Regions from separate parts of the Homo sapiens genome. Here all the other regions are linked to region 7. The links are contacts of gene promoters, found by promoter capture Hi-C in blood cells and fetal thymus (Javierre and others, 2016). All regions are on one chromosome and are shown on one strand. The core of a region is centred on a gene start or on the middle of the fragment in contact, and the rest is flanking DNA. Distances in the headings are between cores, read along the strand shown.

Evidence for each region. The method cuts DNA at HindIII sites, captures the fragments that hold promoters and counts their contacts. A CHiCAGO score of 5 or more calls a contact.
Region 1: a contact is called between a fragment that was not itself captured here and the fragment with the promoter of RBM43 in region 7, in 8 of 17 cell types (naive CD8 T cells, activated CD4 T cells, monocytes and 5 more). The highest score is 14.1, in naive CD8 T cells.
Region 2: a fragment that was not itself captured here is called in contact with the fragment with the promoter of RBM43 in region 7 in 1 of 17 cell types (total B cells); the score reaches 5.6 in total B cells.
Region 3: a contact is called between a fragment that was not itself captured here and the fragment with the promoter of RBM43 in region 7, in 9 of 17 cell types (naive CD8 T cells, M2 macrophages, monocytes and 6 more). The highest score is 11.4, in naive CD8 T cells.
Region 4: a contact is called between a fragment that was not itself captured here and the fragment with the promoter of RBM43 in region 7, in 15 of 17 cell types (total CD8 T cells, naive CD8 T cells, total B cells and 12 more). The highest score is 33.1, in total CD8 T cells.
Region 5: a contact is called between a fragment that was not itself captured here and the fragment with the promoter of RBM43 in region 7, in 7 of 17 cell types (total CD8 T cells, naive CD8 T cells, non-activated CD4 T cells and 4 more). The highest score is 10.5, in total CD8 T cells.
Region 6: a contact is called between a fragment that was not itself captured here and the fragment with the promoter of RBM43 in region 7, in 4 of 17 cell types (total CD8 T cells, naive CD4 T cells, activated CD4 T cells and 1 more). The highest score is 10.7, in total CD8 T cells.

What each region holds. Positions count from the first base shown.
Region 1 is chr2:149,556,466-149,559,590 of GRCh38, reverse strand. No RefSeq gene overlaps it. Among named protein-coding and RNA genes, the nearest start is that of MMADHC-DT, 29 kb to the left of the region's middle. RefSeq lists a silencer at 2,842-3,125. The HindIII fragment of the contact is 4,195 bases long and covers 1-3,125 here.
Region 2 is chr2:152,700,602-152,703,619 of GRCh38, reverse strand. All of the region lies in intron 2 of PRPF40A (pre-mRNA processing factor 40A), which reads left to right. Among named protein-coding and RNA genes, the nearest start is that of PRPF40A, 15 kb to the left of the region's middle. RefSeq lists enhancers at 658-1,159, 1,432-2,631, 2,118-2,745. The HindIII fragment of the contact is 5,812 bases long and covers 1-3,018 here.
Region 3 is chr2:149,616,328-149,619,342 of GRCh38, reverse strand. All of the region lies in intron 1 of MMADHC-DT (MMADHC divergent transcript), which reads right to left. Among named protein-coding and RNA genes, the nearest start is that of MMADHC, 30 kb to the right of the region's middle. The HindIII fragment of the contact is 542 bases long and covers 1,094-1,635 here.
Region 4 is chr2:149,598,398-149,601,607 of GRCh38, reverse strand. All of the region lies in intron 1 of MMADHC-DT (MMADHC divergent transcript), which reads right to left. Among named protein-coding and RNA genes, the nearest start is that of MMADHC, 12 kb to the right of the region's middle. The HindIII fragment of the contact is 2,371 bases long and covers 190-2,560 here.
Region 5 is chr2:152,725,197-152,728,288 of GRCh38, reverse strand. All of the region lies in intron 2 of ARL6IP6 (ARF like GTPase 6 interacting protein 6), which reads right to left. Among named protein-coding and RNA genes, the nearest start is that of ARL6IP6, 8.1 kb to the right of the region's middle. The HindIII fragment of the contact is 1,260 bases long and covers 1,020-2,279 here.
Region 6 is chr2:149,530,222-149,533,242 of GRCh38, reverse strand. No RefSeq gene overlaps it. Among named protein-coding and RNA genes, the nearest start is that of MMADHC-DT, 56 kb to the left of the region's middle. The HindIII fragment of the contact is 3,710 bases long and covers 1-3,021 here.
Region 7 is chr2:151,259,929-151,263,209 of GRCh38, reverse strand. It overlaps RBM43 (RNA binding motif protein 43), which reads left to right and starts at 1,347. Exons shown (of 4, transcript NM_198557.3): 1 at 1,347-1,485. The coding sequence starts at 1,483. RefSeq lists an enhancer at 1,264-1,493 and a silencer at 1,534-1,803. The HindIII fragment of the contact is 8,034 bases long and covers 1-3,281 here.

The sequences.
Region 1 (3,125 bases), core at 238-2,737, 1.7 Mb after region 7:
GAGCGCCTTGACCCTTCTACCCTTCCCTCCCTTTGCCATGTGAGGACACTGTTCATCCCTGCAGACGGTGCAGCAACAAAGCACCATCTTGGAAGCAGAGAAAGAGCCCTTACCACACACCCCATCTGCCAGCACCCTGAACAGTGAGAAATTTCTATTACAGTTCAAGAGGGGGATTAGGGGTGCCGACCACCCCAACCCCAGGCTGAGTCAAAAATCCACATATAACTTTTGACTCCCCAGAAACTGAACTACTGACAGCCTACTGTTGACTGGAAGCCTTGTTGGCAACATGAGTAGTTAACATATTTTGTATGTTAAATGTATTACATTCTGAATTTTTTTTTTCCTTGGGCTGGAGTGCAGTGGCGCGATCTCAGCTCACTGCAAGCTCCGCCTCCTGGGTTCACGCCATTCTCCTGCCTCAGCCTCCTGGGTTCACGCCATTCTCCTGCCTCAGCCTCCTGAGGAGCTCGGACTACAGGCACTTGCCACCACGCCCGGCTACTTTTTGTATTTTTAGTAGAGACGGGGTTTCACCATGTTAGCCAGGATAGTCTCGATCTCCTGACCTCGTGATCCGCCGCCTAGGCCTCCCAAAGTGCTGGGAAATAAACTAGAGAAAAGAAAATGTTAAAAAAAAAATCATGAAGAAGAGAAAATATATTTACTCTTTATTAAGTGGAAGGGGCTCCTCATGAAGGTCTTCATCCTCATTGTCTTCATGTTGAGAAGGCTGAGGAGGAGGAGGTAGAGGAGGGATTGTTCTTGCTGTCTCAGGGGTGGCAGAGGCAGAAGGAAATCTGAATATGAGTGGACCCGGGCAGTTCAAACCCAAATTGTTCAAGTTTACCTCTAACTATAAATTACCCAGTTTGTGGTATTCTGTCAAACCAGCCCAAACGGACTAACACGGTATAAAAATAATTAAATCATTTAAAATTTTATGATTCACAGAGGTTTTCTCAAACTCTACACCTTTCCTTTGCTTTTTACTTAATCATATCCAATATACGTCCACTCTGAATTAGTAAAGTTTGACGTTTGATGCTGACATACTTCATGTCTGCTCCAAGTCGTAGAGCTTATGGCATGTCTAGAGACTCTTGGAGGAGAGGAAATCTCAGCTGGCCCTTGAAAGGCAGGCGGGATTTGAATAGTGAGCAGAGGATATTCCAGGAGCTAAAACATGAGACTAACACAAGAGAGTGGACTGGTTTACCTAGAGTTTCCTTGACTGCAAGGACTTGGGAAATGAGGCTAGAAAGACACCTTGGGGCTAGATTGAAGGAATTTTTAGTTCCAGAATAAGGAATTCACCGATATGCTATAGCATTAAACATTGAAGGTTTTCAAGCAGAAGAATAATTCGATTAAATCAACTTTTGGAAAGATAGATCTCCTGGTGGTATAGGATATAAACTGTAGGCAAAAAGTAACTGGCAACAAAAAGACTACTGTTGTAATGGGGTAACTCAAAGGTAATAGAGGCCTAAATTAGGGTGGTGGCCGTAAGAATGAAATAAATATTCCAAAGTAGAAATTAAAGCAGGAACTGACTGCTCCCTAGGTCTTGCTGTCCAATCCCACTTCCAGCAATCCAAACAAAAGACTGCAGTTTTCAACATGGATGACTAAAAGAATAATAATAATAATAGCACTGGTAATAATAGTAACAAGCCAACATTTTCATCGTGCTTACTGTGCCCAGCACTTAGCTAAGTGCTTTATACATAATGCATATAATCTTCATAACAACCCCATGAAATAAGTATTATTATTCCCATTTCATGGATCAGAAACCTGAAGCAGAGAGAGGCCAGGTGATGAGTTTAAAGTCGCATGGATATTGAATGGCAGAGCCAGGACTGGAACACAAGCAATTGGGCCTTGGACCCTAATGCCTAGCCTGGTGGTCTCACTACCAAGTACTAGTTTGCAGCATATAGCCCTCTTACATTTATGTGGTAAAGTTAAAATGGTGGTGAATATCTGCATATACTTAGAGTTGGGAACCTAGAATTCAGAGAGTAGTCAGGATAGAGGATGTAAAGTTGAATGACAAGCATACCTCACTCAACTTGAATATTTGAAACTCCATTATTGCATTTGATGATAGAATTTAACCCACCGATCTTCCACAGCTCAGGAGAGAGGGTGTGGTAGGGGTGGGATCAAAACAATAAAGATTTTCAGACCCATTGGAAAGAGTTTTGACAGGCTTTGTCATCATACCTCTCAGCAGTTATGCTCTGCTTATCTTTTGTTCTCTGATGTATGCTAATAATTTGCTACGTGATCATGTACTATTTTAATTTCCATTTGGTTCTAGGAAATCAAGTCGCTTATAATATTTTCATGCTCATTCTTATGTTCCAACCTTTAACAACTGTTTTAGGATTCTGAAATTTCTCAACATTACAACATGCATGAAATATCATGACTAGTTCAGTTATCCAGATACTCATCCAAAATCAAAGGACTGTACAGCATCGTGGTTAAGAGACTGGGGTTTGGAAAAAAACTCCTGAGTCTGGATCTCAGTTGTGCTATTTACAAGTTTTCTGACCTTGGGCAAGTTCCACTTCTGTTAATACCCATCTCATGAGAAGATTTAAGGTTTAGGAGGGATGACATATGCAAGCCATTTCTTACTATTCCTGTGGAAGAGGTCAGTAAATTTTAGCTGTTCTTATTATCTGACCTCTGAATGTGTACAAATTTTGTGGACAACTAAACAGTAAAAATTACCCCCAAATATATTTTCCTAAAATTATAATACAAACATCTTCAAGAGGACATGTATTTGGCAGAACACTTTAGTATTTAATCTCACCACAACTTTGGAAAAGTAATACCATCACAAACAATTCATCACATCCAAAACAAATAAATGGAGCACTCCTACTAGCTGTACATACACAGATAGTGTGTTAAGTAATCACAGAATTCACTGCTTTAGACTTAATCAGCCATTACATGCCCAGAGATGTTTTTTTTTGGAAAGTTTTTATTGGCATTTGAAATGGTTTCCTGTTGGCGAAGTGTGCAGTACCTCAAAACTCAACATGCAAACACTGTATCCAACAGAATTCCACCTCAATAGTTTAAAAACTTATATACAT
Region 2 (3,018 bases), core at 223-2,722, 1.4 Mb before region 7:
GTCTTCCCAATTTTCTACTTTTGTAATTTTTTTTGAGATGTCTGGCCATCTTCTAGTGACAAATTGGAGTTTTAATATTCCTTGCCCAAGGGGATCTTCTAAATTGAGGCCTGCATATTGTCTCATTTGCTCTTTCAGTCTATTTAGGAATCTCATAGGCCCTTCATCCTTTTTTTTTGTTATATATCAAATGCTTTAGAGAGATTTGGGGTTTGGGGTACTGATTCCTGAATTCCTTTTATTATCATCTCCCTTAGGTCCTGCATGTTTTTATTGTCCAACTGGGGGTCTCGGGCGGGGAATTTCTGGTTCACAGTAGGAACTTTTTGACTGGGAGGACACTCACGTTCCCAAATTACCATAGCAGCCCTACGAATCACACTCCCTTCTTTTCCTGAAAAGAGGATGTCCAAGATGGACATTAACTCTACCCAAGTGTATAACTGAGGTCCTAAAAATTGATCAGTTTGATCTGTCACTCCATAAGGGTCATCTTGCAGTGGCTTAAGCTCTTTCTTTAAATTCTGGACCTCTGAACTGATTAAGGGAGCATTCACGGAGCCAATGGTTCCCCCTCTTTATGGCATTTCTCTTAAGGGAAAGAGAGCAGGGGCTGACTCTTGAGTTGTAGAGGGGAAAGGGAAGTTCTGGATATCCTTTTTACATTGCTCTATTTCACACTGGAGTCCCTTTAGGGAGGGGTCCTTAGGCTGATAGGGGACAGGCTCCTGGGATGATAATTTCTAAAAGTCAGGATTGTAAGGAGGAGGAGTAACATGAGTAGGTGAAGGATCTAGAGTGGGATCTGGGGCAGCAGCGGCTGCCTGAGGAGAGGGGTTGGGGTCACTGAGTGGGGGAAGATGGTCTAGGGGATCCCATGTGCTGGAGTCTTTGAGCATTGGAACTAACTTACCTAATTTTTCCTTTTGTGATGCTAGATCAGGTTCTTTCCTAGTTGTCTCAAAGGGAAAAAGGAGGACAGGTCCCTGCCTCCAACAAAGAGCATAGTCCATTTCCTCTTAAGAAGCTGGGCTTTTATCATTGACATATTGAATCAAAAGCTGACACATCGCACTCTCATTTGACCTAAACTTTGGCCAGAAGATTGAGGGTTTGAGGATGGGTCCCTGAGTCCAAATAAAACAGTAATTGCTGCTGCTTATGTTTAGTCTTCTCATTATCTTTCCAGTCTTTTAACATGAGACCTAGGGGACTATCGGGGCAATATCTTTACTGCTACCTTTATCCTTTTTACTCCTTGTCTTGCTTAGGGTATTTCCCATGTCAGGTCCTAGTATTAGAGACTTCTTGCCTATTCTCTGGAGGCTTGTTAAGGCTCAGTCCCTTGTATTAGAGATTTCTTGCCTATCCTTTAACCCCGCCTCCTGGAGGATCCTTGCATCCTTCTTTTGCTTTGTCCACTCTGGCTACTTCCCTCGTGGGAATTTAGGCCCCTCTTGGCATTGGCATGCCGGTATGAAACCCACAGCAGGATCCGCCCTAAGCTGTATGAAGTGACCACAGAACTGCAGATAGGACCCACTCACTCTGCACAGCAGTAGTGCTTGGTACCATTCACACAAGCAGCACCGCAAGCAGTAGTGCTTGTGATCATTCACACACACTTTCATCCTCCAGAATATCCCAACCACCAAGGAAATACTTTGTCACCCCTGCAACATTTCTTACCTTGGTCTGTGCAGAGTTACCTGGTTGCTGCAGCATGTGAGAATCCTTTTGCCAAGCTGCTGGCCTGTATCTTTTCTTGTTGCCGAGAGTCTGGGTTTATTTGTTGCACTGGATGGGTTCCAATCTCTCACACTGAGGCCACTGCAACAAGGCGATGGGATGCGCCTCCCCACAAGAAGTGACCAGAGACCGGTTCCCCGGAGGAGAATGGGAATCCTGGGTGGGCCCCCAAATTGTTGGAAGTAAATGCTTGGTGTCACAAAGTGAAAATATACTCAGGCAAAAGTTTTCTCATCAAGGCAATTTACTTCTGTAGAAGGGTGTGTCTCGCGGATGGAGCAATGGCAAGAGCACACTGGACAAGGGAGGGAAAGGGGTTCTTATTCCTAACAGCTGGTCCCTACTGTTGTGTCTTTCCCCTATTGGCTAGGGTTGGACTGCACAATCTAAACTGACTCGATTGGCTGCTGTTTGTAATTGAACACAGATATCTAGGCGGGAAGGGGAAGGCTATGCGTTATGGCGTAAGACATGTCTAGGCATGTCAGGGCGCGGCAAGGGCAGGAAGGGTTAGTTATAGCATGGATAACTACAGAAACCAGAAAAACGAAGTGGAAGAACTGGGAATTAAAACCTTTTGAAGAGGAATTTATCATCTCTGTCATGATATTTTGCATTGGTGGATTTAAAAGGAAAGCCACTTCTGCTGCTTTCTTGCTCAGTGTACTCAAAGTGGGAATCTGAATCTTCTCCCAGTCTGAATGATTCTGTTAGTCATGAAGAACTAGTGAACACTGTCTTGAGTTGAAATTCAGTTTGCTCTGTCTTAGGCTTTGGTTTTTGTTTTTATTTTAACGAAAATCTTACATTTATCTTAGACTTTGATTTTTATTTTTTATTTATTTATTTTTTTTGAGACGGACTCTTGCTTTGTCGCCAGGCTGGAGCGCAGTGGCGCAATCTCAGCTCATTGCAACCTCCACCTCCCGAGTTCAAGCAATTCCTTTGCCTCAGCCTCCCAAGTAGCTGGGACTACAGGTGCGCATCACCATGCCTGGCTGATTTTTTGTATTTTGGTAGAGACGGGGTTTCACCATGTTGGCCAGGATGGTCTCGATTTCTCGTGATCCACCCACCTTGGCCTCCCGAAGTGCTGGGATTACAGGCGTGAGCCACCGCGCCTGGCCAACTTTGATCTTTTTAAACAAAATTCACATTACATTGTGAATGGGATCCTTGTCATTAGGTCTTAATCTTAAATTTAGGCTAAGACTTTTAAAACTAGCTTTTGATAAATGAATGAGCATTAAGTTCTTGTTTGCAAACACC
Region 3 (3,015 bases), core at 115-2,614, 1.6 Mb after region 7:
GGCTGATTGGAGCAGTATTAATAATACTCAACAGCAAAAGCCAAGAAGACTTCATGTATTGAAGTAAATTGGACATTCGACAGAATAATAAATAAAATTATTTCTACTTCAGCTTTTTCTAGGCTCCTAAGGCCTAAATATCATATGACAGTGAGGTAAGAACAGAGCCCTGTGCAGAACTGCTAAGATGATTGTAAAACCGTTTTTATCAGCATCAATGAACCCTAATTAAAAAAAAAAGAAAAGAAAAAAAAAAAACCTCTACAGTTTGAAGAACTGGAGAAGAATCCTGTTGAGAGAGTTATTGGCAGCATGGCTCTCCCAAGGGAGAAAACCTACTTCTTTGCTTTAAGCCAAGTGAGAGGAACTTCAAGGGGAGGAGACACTTGAAGAGTTTGATAAATATCTCCCAGAGTTTTAAAAGAATGTTAGTGCAGGTATAAGACATTGTGGCTAGACCGGCCTGAAGGAGCAATGCAGAGAACAAGGCAGGAATCAAACTTTCTGCACACCAACTGTGTGCCACACAGGAAGGAACAAACCTAGAGTTCTTGGAAGGACTGCCTGGAAAGACATAGCAAACTGCCAGGAATCGAGGACAGTGTCAAAAGTAACAAACTGTATGAGGTATCACCTATCTTACAGTAATTATAGTTGCAGTTGAGGCTCCCACAGGCAAAATCACTCCAAAAACACCCCTGTGATAAAGTCAGGTTTGAGCCTCCATGATGGCAAATCCAAATCACATCAGTAAGCTCTTTGATGTCCCCTTAACTCTTCTCCCTTATCCCCCTCCAGTGCTGAAGGCACTAGAAGCCATAGTTAGTGATGGAAGAGGAGATGCCATGTCTCATACACACACACACACACACACACACACACACACACACACACACTTTACATTCACATACATACACTCTCATACACATGCATTTATACACACATTCACATGCATTCACACACATGCATACACACAAACACCACACACACACCAGGCTTCCAATTCTTGGTCAGGCCCTGGCTGGGAAATGGGAGAAAATTTAAAGAGGACAATGGGTTTCTATTATTATGCTGAACTGAACTGCTTAAAGCTTTAAAGTAACTGGAAGATTACTAATTGCCAGAAAATAGAGAGCAATTTTTAAAACTCTGAGATCTGCTCAAAATTTCATCCAAGAATCGGGAAAAAAGCTATTCAACCCAATGTGTTAAAGAGACAATGAGAAAAAAAAAAAGTTGCTTCAGGTTTCTTTTTTCTAATGAGCTTTTTTAACTATAATGGTCACAGACTTAATAGAAAAAGATTGGCCTCCAACCCTTCAAGTCCTTGAATGTTTTCAAAACCACTTTAAAACACCAAAAGGCATTGATTCATCTGCCCCTAATCAAACTGCAAGCACCCACATTTGAGAAAAGCAAAAACTATTTCTTCTTCGATTGTGTTGTTCCTCTGTTTTGCCTAATTAATAGTATTAAAACTATGTGTTTTCTATTGTTTTTCATTGAAAATGCACTGTACTTTTACTCCCCTATTGATTTTTAAGTCAGATAGACCTATAACATTCTTCATAAAGGAAAATGTCTGCAACATTCCAAAATTAATGGTTAGAACCCAACCCATTTGTAGACTAAGCTTCCCTGTAATATGTGCATACTCCAGTGATGACTGTACATGTAAGAGTAAAATAAAACCTTTATTCAACATGATCATCTCTGTATAGAACTTGTTATACTAATTTCAAATCTCTCAAAGGATATAGATGTTTTCCCCAGCAGGTCTGGTCTCAGGGATAAGAGAAATTCATTATTCCATCTGTATTAATTTGTCATGGTGTGTACAGCCAAGGATCCAGCACAGAAATGGCACAAGCAAAGACTTCCAGGCTGACTGTCTCTTGGGGGTCCAAGACACAGTAAGTTGTCAGAGTTGATAAAGATATGTTCTAAGAAATGTGAACCTGCCCATTATTTTTCTGGGAATAGCAGCCAAAACCAATAACAAAAAAAAAAAAAAAAAAATGACCCAACACCGCCAGGCTTGCAGGCATTCTTTACTACATTTCATGCCAATTATTCCTTCTCACATGAAAAGCAGGCATTAATTTCCAACCCCTGACCTATATTTCACATACCAGAGTTTCAGACCAAAAGAAACACTAGCTATCATAAAAATGCTACGACAGCCTGCCACATGAGGAGGAATCCCTTTAGGCTTCCAGCCAACAAGTTTGGTTTGAGTCTGCCACACTTTTATAGGGTGGAAAGGTGAGGTAGGGGAGAAAGAGGATAATTGTCCTCCCTTCCTTGAGAGGTCTTATCACAATATCTACTACTTTCAGAGAGGTAGTGAAAAAAATGATGGAAATCATAACTAATATCTGCTTGTCTCCATGGCATCTAGAGTCCCAGTAGGCCTCATCCTTAGCTGCTTCTCCTGTTTCAAGCACAAACTAATCATTCCAGTAAAACCTCCAGAAAAGATCTCCTGCATGCCTGAAATATTCCAAAGACATGGGATTGGAACTAGAAAGTGCTTCAGACAGAAACTTATGCTGGAGCATGGCTTTTGTGAATGGGAAGTCATGGGCAATGGTTCTTCTAGTGGCTGAACGGGAATTCAAGTATAATGGTTCATTTTCACTAAATGGTTCCCTGGGGGTCCAAAAAAAAAACACAAAAGAGCAATATCCAAAAGTGCCAAACATCTTTCCAGGGGTAGCTTTTTCAGGGGGAAGAATCTAATTCAGTGAGGACTCACAATGTGTTATACTGAAAAATGGAATGAAAATACATTTCCAGCCTTCTCAAGCAGACTCCAACAGTGAAGAAAAAACCAGAACACAAAACATTCTCAGGTTATAGCCAAGTTCTAGATGGATCTCAAGACCCAGCAGAGAGATTAATTTAATTTTCTAAGATAGCAGAGTAAGTCAAGAAATAGGGAATTTAAATGAAATTATTTTTGCCTGACTACCATATCAAATCCTTAAATAATAAGGCAGTGTCTAACTCCAT
Region 4 (3,210 bases), core at 126-2,625, 1.7 Mb after region 7:
GCATGCATGAGAGGAAATGACTCATGCTTGGGAAAAAAACACAAGAAAGGAGTACTCAGAAATATTCTTGCAGCTCACAGAGCGCTAGGAATTGTTCATGTTCCCACCAGCCAAGATGAAACAATAACAACAACAACAACAAAATTTTAAAAACCAAAAACGAAATATATAAGGTATCAAGTAAAAGCTTGAGAATGGTATTAGATTCCAAAGCACTATATAATTAAATGGCCAAAAACTAATGATAAAAAGAAAATCTTAAGATCAGCCATAAAAATAAGACACATTGTGACACACTGCAAACAAAGCAATAAAGAGAAGAATGACAGCAGACTTCCATCATAAACTATGCAAGCCAGATGTATTGAGAGGGGGAAATATTGTCTACCTACATTTCTTTATCAAGAAAAATATATTTCCAATGTGAAGAATGAATGTACATTTCTGGAAGAACAAAATGAAGAGAATTCATCACCAAAAGAATTCCACTCCAACAACGCTAAAGGAAGTTCTTTAGGCAGAGCTAAAATAACACCAGGTGGAAAATTAAATCTACACAAAGGATTAAAGAAAGCCAGAAATGGTAAGTTTGTAGAGGAATGTAAAAAAACAATTTTCTCATTTTACAAAATATCATCAAAATAGAATCGACTGTTTAAAGCAAAAATGAGAGCAGTGTAGTATGGGATTCACAGCAAACATGGAAGTAAAATACATGAGAACAGCAGCCATCAGGATAAAGAGATGGAAGCACCCTGTTGTGAGGTTCTTATACTGCATGTGAAGAGGTATAAGGTAGATTGGGATAAGTTTTTTCTAATGAAAATTATTTGTATTTTTTTTTACCTCAATATGTGACTTTTTAAAAAAATTTTAGTTTTGGGGTACACGTGCAGGTTTGTTACACAGGTAAATTGCATGTCACAGGGTTTGGTGTACAGATTATTTCATCATCCAGGTAATAAGCATAATACCTGATAGGCAGTTTTTGGATCTTCACTCTCCTCCCATCCTCCACCCTCAAATAGACCCTGGTGTCTGTTGTTCCCTTATCTGCGTCCATACCCAATGTTTAACTCCTACTTATAAGTGAGAACATGCAGTATTTGGTTTTCTGTTCGGGCAACAGCCTACAGCTTCATTCATGCTGCTACAAAGGACATGATCTTGTACTTTTTTATGGCTGCATAGTATTCGATGGTGTATATGTACCACATTTTCTTTATCTAGTCTACCATTGACGGGCATTTAGGTTGATTCCATGTCTTTGCTATTGTGAATACTGCTGTGATGAACATATGTGTGCATGTGTCTTTATGGTAGAATGACTTATATTCCTTTTAGTATATACCCAATAATGGAATTGCTGGACAAAATCTTAATTCTGTTTTAAGTTCTTTGAGAAATTGCCAAACTGCTTTCTACAATGGCTGAACTAATTTACATTCCCCCCAGCAGTGTATAAGTTTTCCCTTTTCTCCACAATCTCGCCAGCTAGACTGTGATAAATTAAAGTCCTTCGCTCTTCCGCTGAAAGGAAACTCCAGGTGATTTGGCATTTGATTAAAATTATTAGGCCACCATAGGTATGTCTCTGAGAATGTTCTGCGAAGAGATTAGAATTTGAGTCTTTGAACTGAGTGGGGAAGATCCACCCTCAATGTGGGCAGATACCTTTCAATTGGCTGGGGGCCCAGATGGAATAAAAGGGTGGAGAAAGGGCAAAATCTTGCTCTGTCTTCTAAAGCTAGGATAACTTCTTCCCGCTGCTCTTGAATGTTACAACTCCCCTTCTCAGCTTTTGGACTCTGGGAAACACACCAGCAACCCCCAGGCTCCCAGGTTTTTGGCCTTGGACTGAGAGTTATGCTATTGGCTTCCTTGGTTCTGAAGCCTTCACACTTTGCAGTGAGCCATGCTACCAGTTGCCCTGGTTCTCTAGCTTGCAGACGTCTATCATGGGACTTCTCAGCCTCCATAATCAACTGAGCTAATTCATATATCTTATCAGTTCTGCCTCTCTGGAGAACCATGACTAAAACACCTATTGATTACTTATAATATGCCAGAAATGTTCTAAGTAATTTATACATATTGTCATTTAATTATCATAGTTCCAAATAGATGGGCACTATTATTAAACCCATTCTACAGATGTAGTCCTAAGGCACTTGCCCAATGTAGATGTACGATGCTTTAGGAGTTCAGAAACAGGAGAAGGAGAAATTCAGGACCAGGAGGAACAATGAGGACTGTATTAGCCTAGAGAAGTTGTCATGGAAGGTATAAGACTTGAGCTAGCTCTTGCAAAGGTATATGCTAATGACTACCAGAATTGTCACACCAAATGTCACAATCTAATATTATCAAAGATCTAGTACTTCAGCAGAGTAATTTAAATCAATTCCTCAGATCTCTCAACATTTATTAAATACCTATTATGTTTTAGCCTCCGCAATCAAAGAGATAAACAAAAAATGGCTATCTATTGAAAATGTATATATGATACTCAGCATATTACTAGATGTCACTGGGGTACAGCCCCCACTTTTGAAAAGCTTGTAATCTAGTTGGTCATGTGTGTGTGTGTGTGCATGTGTGTGTATATGTACACGTGTGCAAACTAATTAAAAAGCAACTAAGACTAGGTTATAATCATGAGCTACACTGAGCAATGCTCTATGATTCAGGAAAGCAGATTTCTGTGAATTACCCAGATAGCTTCATGGAGGAGATGGCTTGGAGCTGATATTGAAAAAGCAGCCACATTTATATAAGTAAAGGAAGCAGGAAGAATTTACCAGCTGGTGATAACAAGATGAGAAGGACTTAGGTAGGGATAAGCATAGTTGGTGTGACTAAGAGTGAATAATATTAAAAGATAGCTGAAAATAAAGTCACACATGTAAAGGGGGCAAGAGGGACACAAATTGGACATTAAAATTAACTCAAATCCCAGATTGTTGTTGAGAATATAGGCTTGATAATTTTCATCCTCAAACGCTAACTAAATCTTTCTGTTTTACTTATGCAGGAGAAAGGGCAGAAATATAAGACAGAGTGCAGAGAATACTAAAAATAATAGAAAAAAATAAGGTTTCAAAGACCATCTGATATGTAAGTAATTTCCTTGGAATTCAGAAATATCAATAAAATTTAAAACAGAGAATGTTACCTGATCCAAGATTTTATTTTTAAGCCCAAATCTTC
Region 5 (3,092 bases), core at 400-2,899, 1.5 Mb before region 7:
ATGGGATTAAACGTGACTGTATACTAGTAATTTCCAAGTCCTGGGTAAGAGATTCTGACATTTGAAATGTTTAAATAAACTGGTATACTTATATTATGAAATACAATGCAGTCATGAAAAAATGAGGTAGACCTATGTATACTAATACAGAATATACTCCAAAAGGCACTTTAACAAGGCTGCAAAATATACATGATTCCAATTATATTTTTCCTATAACAGTGAAAAAAACATGTATTTTAAATGACTATACATATGTAAACAAAGAGAAAAAGATGTAAAAAGACACACAGGTAGATCGGTGAAAGCCTTTGCTTTAATTGTTGGAATCTTTCCTGGTGAGATTAAATTACTTACGTAACTAATGCATTTTATGATACTAACAATGAAAATACAATACAATCATACACTGATGACAGGGATATGTTCTGAGAAATGCATCATTAGGTGATTTCGTTGTTGTTTGTACATCACAAGAGCGTACTTACAAAAACCTAGGTATATAGCCTACTACACACCTATGAGCTATACAGTTATATCCTATTATTCCAATGCTACAGACCTGTGCGGCATGTTACTATACCAAATACTGCACGCGACTGTAATACAACAATAAGTACTTGTGTATCTGAACATACTTAAATATAGAAAAGGTACAGTAAAAATACAGTGTAAAAGATAAAATATGGTACACCTGTATAGGGTACTTACAATGAATGGAGCTTACAGGACAAAGAGTTGCTCTGGGTCAATCAGTGAGCGAGTGACTGATGAGTGAAGGTGAAGGCCAAGGACACTACTGTCCACTACAATAGACTATTATAAACACTGTACACTTAGGTTACGCTAAATTAAAAAATTTTTCTCTTCATTAATAAATTAACCTTAGCTTACTGTAACTTTCTTACTTTATAAATTTTAAAATTTAACTTTACCCTTTTCTACTAACAGTTTAAAACAAAAGGACACTGTACAGCTGTGCAAAAATGTTTTTTCTTTATACCATTACTCTATAAGCTTCTATTTCTAATTTTTTAGTTTTTAAACTTCTTTGTTGAAATCTAAGACACACACACATTAGCCTAGGCCTACATAGGGTCAAGGTAATATCACTGTTTTTCACTGTCACATCTTTTTCCACTGAAAGGTCTTCAAGGGCAACAACATGCATGAAACTGTCATCTCCTATGACAACAATGCCTTCTTCTGGGATACCTCCTGAAGGACCTGCCTGAGGCTGTTTTACAGTCAACTTTTTTTAAGCAGAAGTAATATAATCTAAAACAATAAGAAGCATAGTAAATACATAAACCAGTAACATAATTGTTTATCAAGAATTATGTTATGTACTGCACGTAATTGTGCTGTATTTTTTTTTATGACTGGAAGGTTATATAAAACTAGATTGGTAATAGGTTGGTTTATACCAGCATCAACACCAACATGTGAGCAATATATTGTACTACCAAGTTAGGACAGTTGCAATGCCACTAAATAGGAATTTTTCAGCTCCACTGTAATCTTATGGGACCACCATCATACAGGCATATATGCAGACCACTGTTGACCAAAATGGTATGTGGTGTATGGCTGTACTTAGCTAACTTTAAAAGTTGTAAAAACTATTACCAGCTGGCTACTAATAAAACTTAGATGTATCATATGCATGAAACTAACCATCAATTTTTAAATGTTTATGTAAGCAAATGTTCTCAACTTTATTAGATTCTATAGTTTTCTAACTTGAGAGGATGACCATTATTTTAAATAATTTGGTATCCTCTCTAAATCACATTCTATAGATAGCTCAAGTCTTTAAATCCCTAGAGCAAAGTGTCTCTTTACACGTCAAAGCCAAGTGCAGGAGCAGAGGAAAGTGCTCTCTCCTCTCCTGCCAATGCAACATGAGCATAGTGGGTGCAGAGTGCATGGTAGCTATAGCAGTTACACTGGTTAAGGCCTTCACCCAATCGCCCGACCACCTGCAACCCAGACTGTAGCATTTCTACATCTTTCTGTTGAAACAGATGAGGAAGGTGATCCTCTGACAGATTAAGTGACTGAAATTTCAAAAATAAATAACACCTGTAGTTCCCAACATTGGTAAATCATTAGATTCACATGGGAAAATTAAAAAAAAAACCCAACACTTTTATTACAGATCATTTCAAACACAGGAAAAAGTTGAGAGAAGTATATAAAACTCATATACCCATCATCCAGCTTTAAACAATTAATTCATGGGCAATCCTGTTAAATTTATATTCTCCTCTGAAGCTTGTAATCTTCAGTATAACAGGGAAAACAGTCATCAATATTTTTATCATATAAGTCCAAAGAGGCTTTTTTATTTCCTTTATTTTCATGACACTTGAAGAATAATTTAGAGAGCAAAAAGACAGCAGGAAAAAAACTTTGTTAAAAATTTTCATAAGAAATAAATACAGCAAATCCGAATTTCAATTCCCAGTTTCCCTAAAGTCATGTACACCAAAAATGGGCACGACCTGAGTGCAAATAATTGCTTACTAACTTCATGTATGAATCTACAACATATCCATCTTGTAAATACCACTTCCAGATTTCAGATACATCTCAAATTGGTTACAGCTTGTCATTATTCCTGCTTTTTTTTTTTGCACTTGCGTCATTAAAACACAATGTTTGAAGGAATTTTTAAGCCTTTCATGGCTTATTTTGACGAAAAGAGGACAACAATCTTCTTTGCTCCATAATTTGTAACATATTTTCATTTTTAGATTACAAACAATTCAAATGGTCAACCCAATAATTCTTTTTTGCATTTTTTTTTCCAAATCACCTTTGTATACACATCTGCCCTTAGCATCTGTCCACTTACAAACAGTATCAAATAAATTAGGATGCAGACCTCATAAAAGATGAAAAAAATACTTAAAGTCTTAGGAAAGTCTTACTGGAATCCTAATTCCATCATAATTATTTTATTCTTTCGACCATAGTTGAGAATTGATGAGTAATACTAAAATAATGAAATAGGAGAATGTTTTGAGAAAGAACAATATGTGACCACTAAAATCCCAAAACGTATTTCAAAATTAAAAAATGTCCAA
Region 6 (3,021 bases), core at 334-2,833, 1.7 Mb after region 7:
TCCTTAGGTTTACTGTTCTTGTGCAAAGTGATTCTTTCTTTTTATGAGTGTGCTAGACTCATCTTCTTAATCCTCACTTCCAGCATTTGGTGAATATGTCTACGTTCTATACCCTATAAGACTTGATTAATTTATGTATTTATTTAACAAAGATTTAAAGAGCATTTACTTTATACAAAAGTCCTTTTTATATTGTAGTTTACCTTCACAGAGCTAGATATTACTCTCCTTGCTTAGCTACTTGTCCTTACCTGTGATATTTCAGGTAGATTTCTGTCTTACTTAATAATTCACAGCTAGCACTTCCCGCAGAACCCAGCATTTCTGAAACAAAGATAGGAAAACATTCTGTTTGGTTCCCAGTATTCCTTCTAATCATGGCTTACATTTTGTTTGTCTTTTTGTTGTAAAATATACCTATTTAGTACACATTGTCAGTAGTAATTATTAGAATTGTTCCGTGAGTAATGCTTGAGTGTTTAGGGCTATGTCATCCTTTGGAGTACAGTCATGTGCCCCATGACAGCGTTGGACCATGTTGTCAATATTCATCAACGTTGGACCACATATAGGATGGTGGTCCCATAAGATTATAATTCTATGTTTTTACTCTACATTTTCTATGTTTAGATACAGAAATACTTACCACTGTGTTATAACTGCTTATAGTAGTCAATATAGTAACATGCTATCTGGCTTGTAGCCTAGGAGCCATACGCTGTACCATACAGCCTAAGTGTGTAGCAAGCCATACAATCTAGGTTTGTGTAAATACATGCTATAATGTTTCCACAATGATGAATTCACCAAATGATGCATTTCTCAGAACATGTCTTTGTCATTAGGCGTTACATAACTGTATTTTCCCCAGCGCCATCACTTTCCCCCTTGGTCATACTGAATTGCATTTGACATTAAAAAAAAAAAATTTGCAAAGCCTAGAAAAATCTCACTGATTAGTTTCTTACTGTCTGAAAGATTCCAGCCTATCCTGCCTTCTAAGTTCAGGTCAACTCAAAAGCAGCTACACCTAGTAGTTATTGATTTGCCTATTATGTATTATGTCAAATACAAATTTAATTATATTAATAATTTTGACCCCTATCAATTACCTAAGATCAGAGTGGTGTCATCATTAAACCTACAAGTAATTCATCAGCTTCAACTGAAACCATAATTATAAGATCTTTCACTATTGAAACTTCTGTTAATATAACAAGATAAGATTTTTTATCTTCTTTGCCATTGTTCTTTATCTTTCTATCAAAAGAGTTATGAATGGTCAAAAGCCCTGATAAAAATAGTAGCCGGGCTCTTTGGCTCATGCCTGTAATCCCAGCACTTTGGGAAGCCAAGGTGGGTGGATCACTTAAGCTCAGCAGTTCGAGACCAGCCTGGGCAATACAGACATCCTGTTTCTATGAAAAATAAAAAAATTAGCCCAGAATGGTGGCATGCATCTGTAGTCCCAGTTACTTGGGAGGCTGACGTGGGAGGATCACATCAGCCTAGGAGGTTCAGGCTTCAGTAAACTATGATTGCACCACTGCACTCCAGCCTGGGCAACAGAGTGAGACCCTGTCTCAAAACAAAACAAAACAAAACAAAACAAAGTAGATATGTGAATAGTTGCCTATGTTTAAGCCAAACCCTTGATAAGCAAAGCAGTTGAAAGTACCACTTGCTATTTTAAATGGTTTCAGAGCATAAAATCTACTGCTGGTTGTCCCCCCAATTCCATTTTCCCCATCTTCCTGGCATGCACCTGGACTTGATATTACAGCCTCTCTTCTAGTTCGGTGAGGTGATGTGACTGAATTCTAGCTAACTTCTATTGTTTGAGCCATTAAATGTTTGAGTTTATTTCTTATCTCAGTTTGGTCTAACTTGTCTAATACAAAGAATTCTCTCTCTTAGAATCAGGTCTTTCTCAGTCAAGAAAATAAGCAGTTGTGCAGGCTGCCAAGGTGAGAGGTAGGATTCCGAGAGAGAAAAGGACACTGTTACCTATGTTACCAGCCATAGAGTTTGTGATTTCAAGAGATGGGAAAGAGTTTTATGTGGATGCTCGTGGCTAAGTCTCCTGGTGGATATTTCCCTGAGTTTAATTCATTGATTTTTCTTCCTAGACTGTTTCTCTCATGGTTTTCATAACATATATAGCTTCTGCTGAAGGAGAAACCTCCATGGAGTTAAGGCCACAGTTCTGTGAGTTTTCACAAATAAACAGTCATGTAACTACCATCACAATAAAGACATAGAACATTTCATAACTGCCAAAATTTCCCCCACACCTTTTGTAGCCAACCACTTGAAATCATTGATCTTGTTTTCTGTGGCATGGCATAGAAATGAAATCACAGTTTGTATGTATCCTTTGGGTGTGGTTTCTCCCACTAACATGGAGCATTTAAGCTCCACCTGTGTTGTTGTGTATATCAATGATCTATTTTTATTGCTGGGTTGTATTTCATTATATTGATATATTATGACGTGGTTACTCATTCCACAGTTGAGAGACATTTGGGTTCTTTTTAGTTTGGGGGTTATTATGAATAAAAACATGCTAATCATTTATGTATGGGTTTTTGTATGAATACAGGTTTTGTTCCACTTGGGTAAATAGCAAGGAATGGGATTGCAGGCTAAATGTATATGAACATTATAAGAAACTGCTGAAGTGCTTTCCAAAGTGACTGTTCCATTTTGCATTCCCACCAGAGTTCCAGATTTTTTTAATCATTTGCTCATTCTAATAAATAGTGCCCAAGATTAATTTTGCCTGTTCTAGAATGTCAAATGGAGTCATTTACATGGCTTCTTTTGCTTAGCATAATGTATATAGAGTTAGTCCATGTTATTACACATACCAGTAATTCATTTTTTTTTTTTACTGCTGAGTAGTATGCCATTGTATAAATATATATCTCTTCCTTTATGCATTCATCTCTTGATGGACATTTGGGTTGTACAGAAACAGGCAGTTACAAGCTCCTCCGTAGTTTCTTGTCTTTTTGTTGT
Region 7 (3,281 bases), core at 98-2,597:
TTACATTTTTTTGCACTTTACATTTTGATAAAAATCTTTAGAAGTATTTGCATCCATCTATGCTTGCAGCAACTCTGATGCTTACATTCAGGCTAACACTTTCTGGTTTTGCAGATCTAGTTGTGAAAAATGGTATCTTATTATTTCAATTTACATTTCTTAGGAGTGGGATTGGGTTTCTTCATATCTGCTAGCCATCTACCTTTGTTCTTCATGCATTCATTGATTTGATTTTGAAGTTTGTCCAGAGATTCCCTGTGTCCCCACAGGCGCCATTCGGGGTTCCTGTGCTAAGGCATGGACAAGGTGGTGAGCTCTCTGCTGGCAGGGACCTGGCGCTCTCATCCTGTGTCCTTAGCACCCGGCAGAGGTCCAAGAGGGCTCCTGGTCTGGGCTGGGAAGGTGACCAACACGGCGTTGGGGGTTGAGGTGGGGGTTGGGGAACTGGGGTAGGTTGTGCAGAGGAAAAGGCCCAGGTGAGCGGTGGGGGAAGGGGAAGAAGTCTGGACAGATAATAAGGGCGTAGGAAAGACATCCAGATTTCACTGAGTGCAGGGCTTTTTAAAACTGATGTTAGAAAAACTTGATTTGCTGTTGTAAAAAACCATCTGTGTGAAGTAGAAATTGATATCAATAACATGATAGAGAATACGTTCTAAAAAGTAAAGGTAGCTGGATGTAAAATTCTGGCAGAAGTTTAATATCCTAGATGGTTAGTTTGAGGCCAGCAACTAATGAGGATAAAAGCCTTCTCCATGGAAAATTTTGGACAGTTATCTGGAGAAATATTACAGTGCGCATCAACCAAATTGAAATGTTTTCAAAAGTGTTGTAAAGTTTCATGTAGTAAAAAGGTTTTAGCCACATGCCCTTCAATTTCATGGCATCGAATATATAAACACAGAAGAGAGCATGCATGCAAGATATTTAACTCCCTTACATGATAATGCATGCGATTCAAAACTATCATGACATCTAGGGCTCTCTGCAACTACGAGATGATTGATGTTAGGAAAAGCGTAGCCCCCCAGTATCAACACAGGAAGCGGCCACCACCTACTATGTGTTTTCCCTTTTTGCGTTTTTTCTTTTTTTAAATCAACTCTGCCGTTGTTGCTGCTGCTTAGCAAAACGGGTAAAAACAAAATTGCAATCACTGATGCATCACCCAGAGAATTCCCAAATTTCCTGTCGAGGAATCCTCTCGGCCTCTCTCCAGAGTGCTTCCACAAGTTGCAAAACTACGGAGGGCGTCTGGGCAGGCGCTGGCAACAGCACTCCTGAGTCCGAGCTCCCACTCAGAGGCCACGAGGTCGCAGAACAGCCGGATCGGGTGGAAGGACCGCCCTTTTCTTCGTAGCCTCCAAGGGAGCTGGAACAAAAAACGAAACCAAAACCTGCCTGCTCGCTCCTCTCCCCATCGCCTGCGTTCCGCTGGTTGTGGGCTTTCTGCGGCCGCTGAGGGCGCGTCTCCCCTCCGCCATGGCAAGTTGCTTTTGCTTTGGGTTTTGCGGTGCAGGTCCGTGCCTGTACCGTCGCCATGGTCCCCTAGAAGGGCGCGGAACCGGGCGCGACGGGCCAGGGTGCAGGGCTGCGCGGGAGGGGGCGGCGCACGGAGGGGCCCCAGGGACCCCGGGGGCCCCGGAGAGCCGTCCACCCCGGCGGGCAAACTCAGGTCAGCCTCGCTGCACCCTTCCCAGGTGGCGGCATTGCGCGCTCCTGAAATTCACGTACGGCGGTGCAGTATAGGCCCGCTCCAGAGGCTCAGGACTAGGCTGTCACCTCCCACACCCACTGCCCAGGCGACGGGGACGCCGCCGTTCGTCGAGGAGCTGCTTCGCAGGCTGTTAGGGCTTAACTGTTGTCCTCCCACGCCTCGGGGGGAACAAAAGTGGCCTGATTAGCCAGAAATGGAGGTCACAGCTGCCTTTTGAAAAGGGCTAATAAGAACGATTCGAGCCAAGGACGCAAGTCAGGAAGACATCCTCATGTCTTATGTCTGCCTTGGTGCGAATTCTTGTCTTAGCAAATTCAAAATTTATCCTTCTGTGTTTTGTTTTGTTTCCATCAATCGCTTAAAAGCCTTGGCAAGGCCTTTAATTCCTGCTCTGAAATGCTAGAGTCCCGGAAATGCAAAAGCAAGTACGTTTTTGTTGACCTGGTGGCGGTAGAGGCGTCGTCATTGAAAATAAACAACTGATTTTGAGAAAATCAATATAAACAAATGCAGTCAATGAATCTTCTGTTTCTTCCCAATGCCTTACTTACAAAAGTAAAGTTTTGCTATATACTTTTTGCTTTCTGATAAGATGGCCAAGTCTGTTATAACACAATACTGATGCAAGGAAATGCGCCATCACGTTAGTATGTCTTGGCTAAAAGCTGCTCGTTTCAAAGTCCTTGAAAGGACTGTCTTTCTCTAGGCATTTCTTTATCTTAATCGTGGGTAGAAGAGATGAACAACCCTCATTATTCATAATTGACCTCAGTAAAATTATCTATGTTAGCCATACTTTCTCCAACCTATGAAAGGGAGTTAAGGACAAATATTGGCAAGTCATTGAAGTACTAATTCATTAGATGATTCATAGAAACTAGTTCTTACCAAACAAAATTTACATCTTTATGTTTTTTTCTTCTAAAAATACTGGTTCAGGGAGAAGTTTCTTTGATTTTAAAGATAAATTACCAGTAGACATTCGAATAAAGAAATATGGTATTAGTACTAATGAGGGCATAGAGCTGAAGTAAGATTTCCTGAGTTTAAATTGATTGCATGTTTTTCTTTGATATTGTTGGGGTGCAGAAAATGATCTCCCTGCCCGGCACGGTGGCTCACGCCTGTAATCCCAGCACTTTGGGAGGCGAAGGAGGGCGGATCACTTGAGGTCAGGAGTCTCTACTAAAAATACAAAAATTAGCTGGGCGTGATGGCATCCACCTGTAGTCTCAGCTACTGGGGAGGCTGAGGTGGGAGGATCACTTGAGCCCAGGAGGCGGAGGTTGCAGGGAGCCAAGATCACGCCATTGTTCTCCAGCCTGGGCAACAGAGCGAGGCGCTGTCTAAAAAAAAAAAAAGACTTCGAGAGGCCGAGGGGGGAGCGGATCACGAGGTCAGGAGTTTGAGACCAGCCTGGTCAACATGGTGAAACCCCATCTCTACTAAAAATACAAAAATTAGTCGGGCATGGTGGCTGATGCCTGTAGTCCCAGCTACTCAGGAGGCTGGGGCAGGAGAATCGCTTGAACCCGGGAGGTGGAGGTTGCAGTGAGCCAAGATC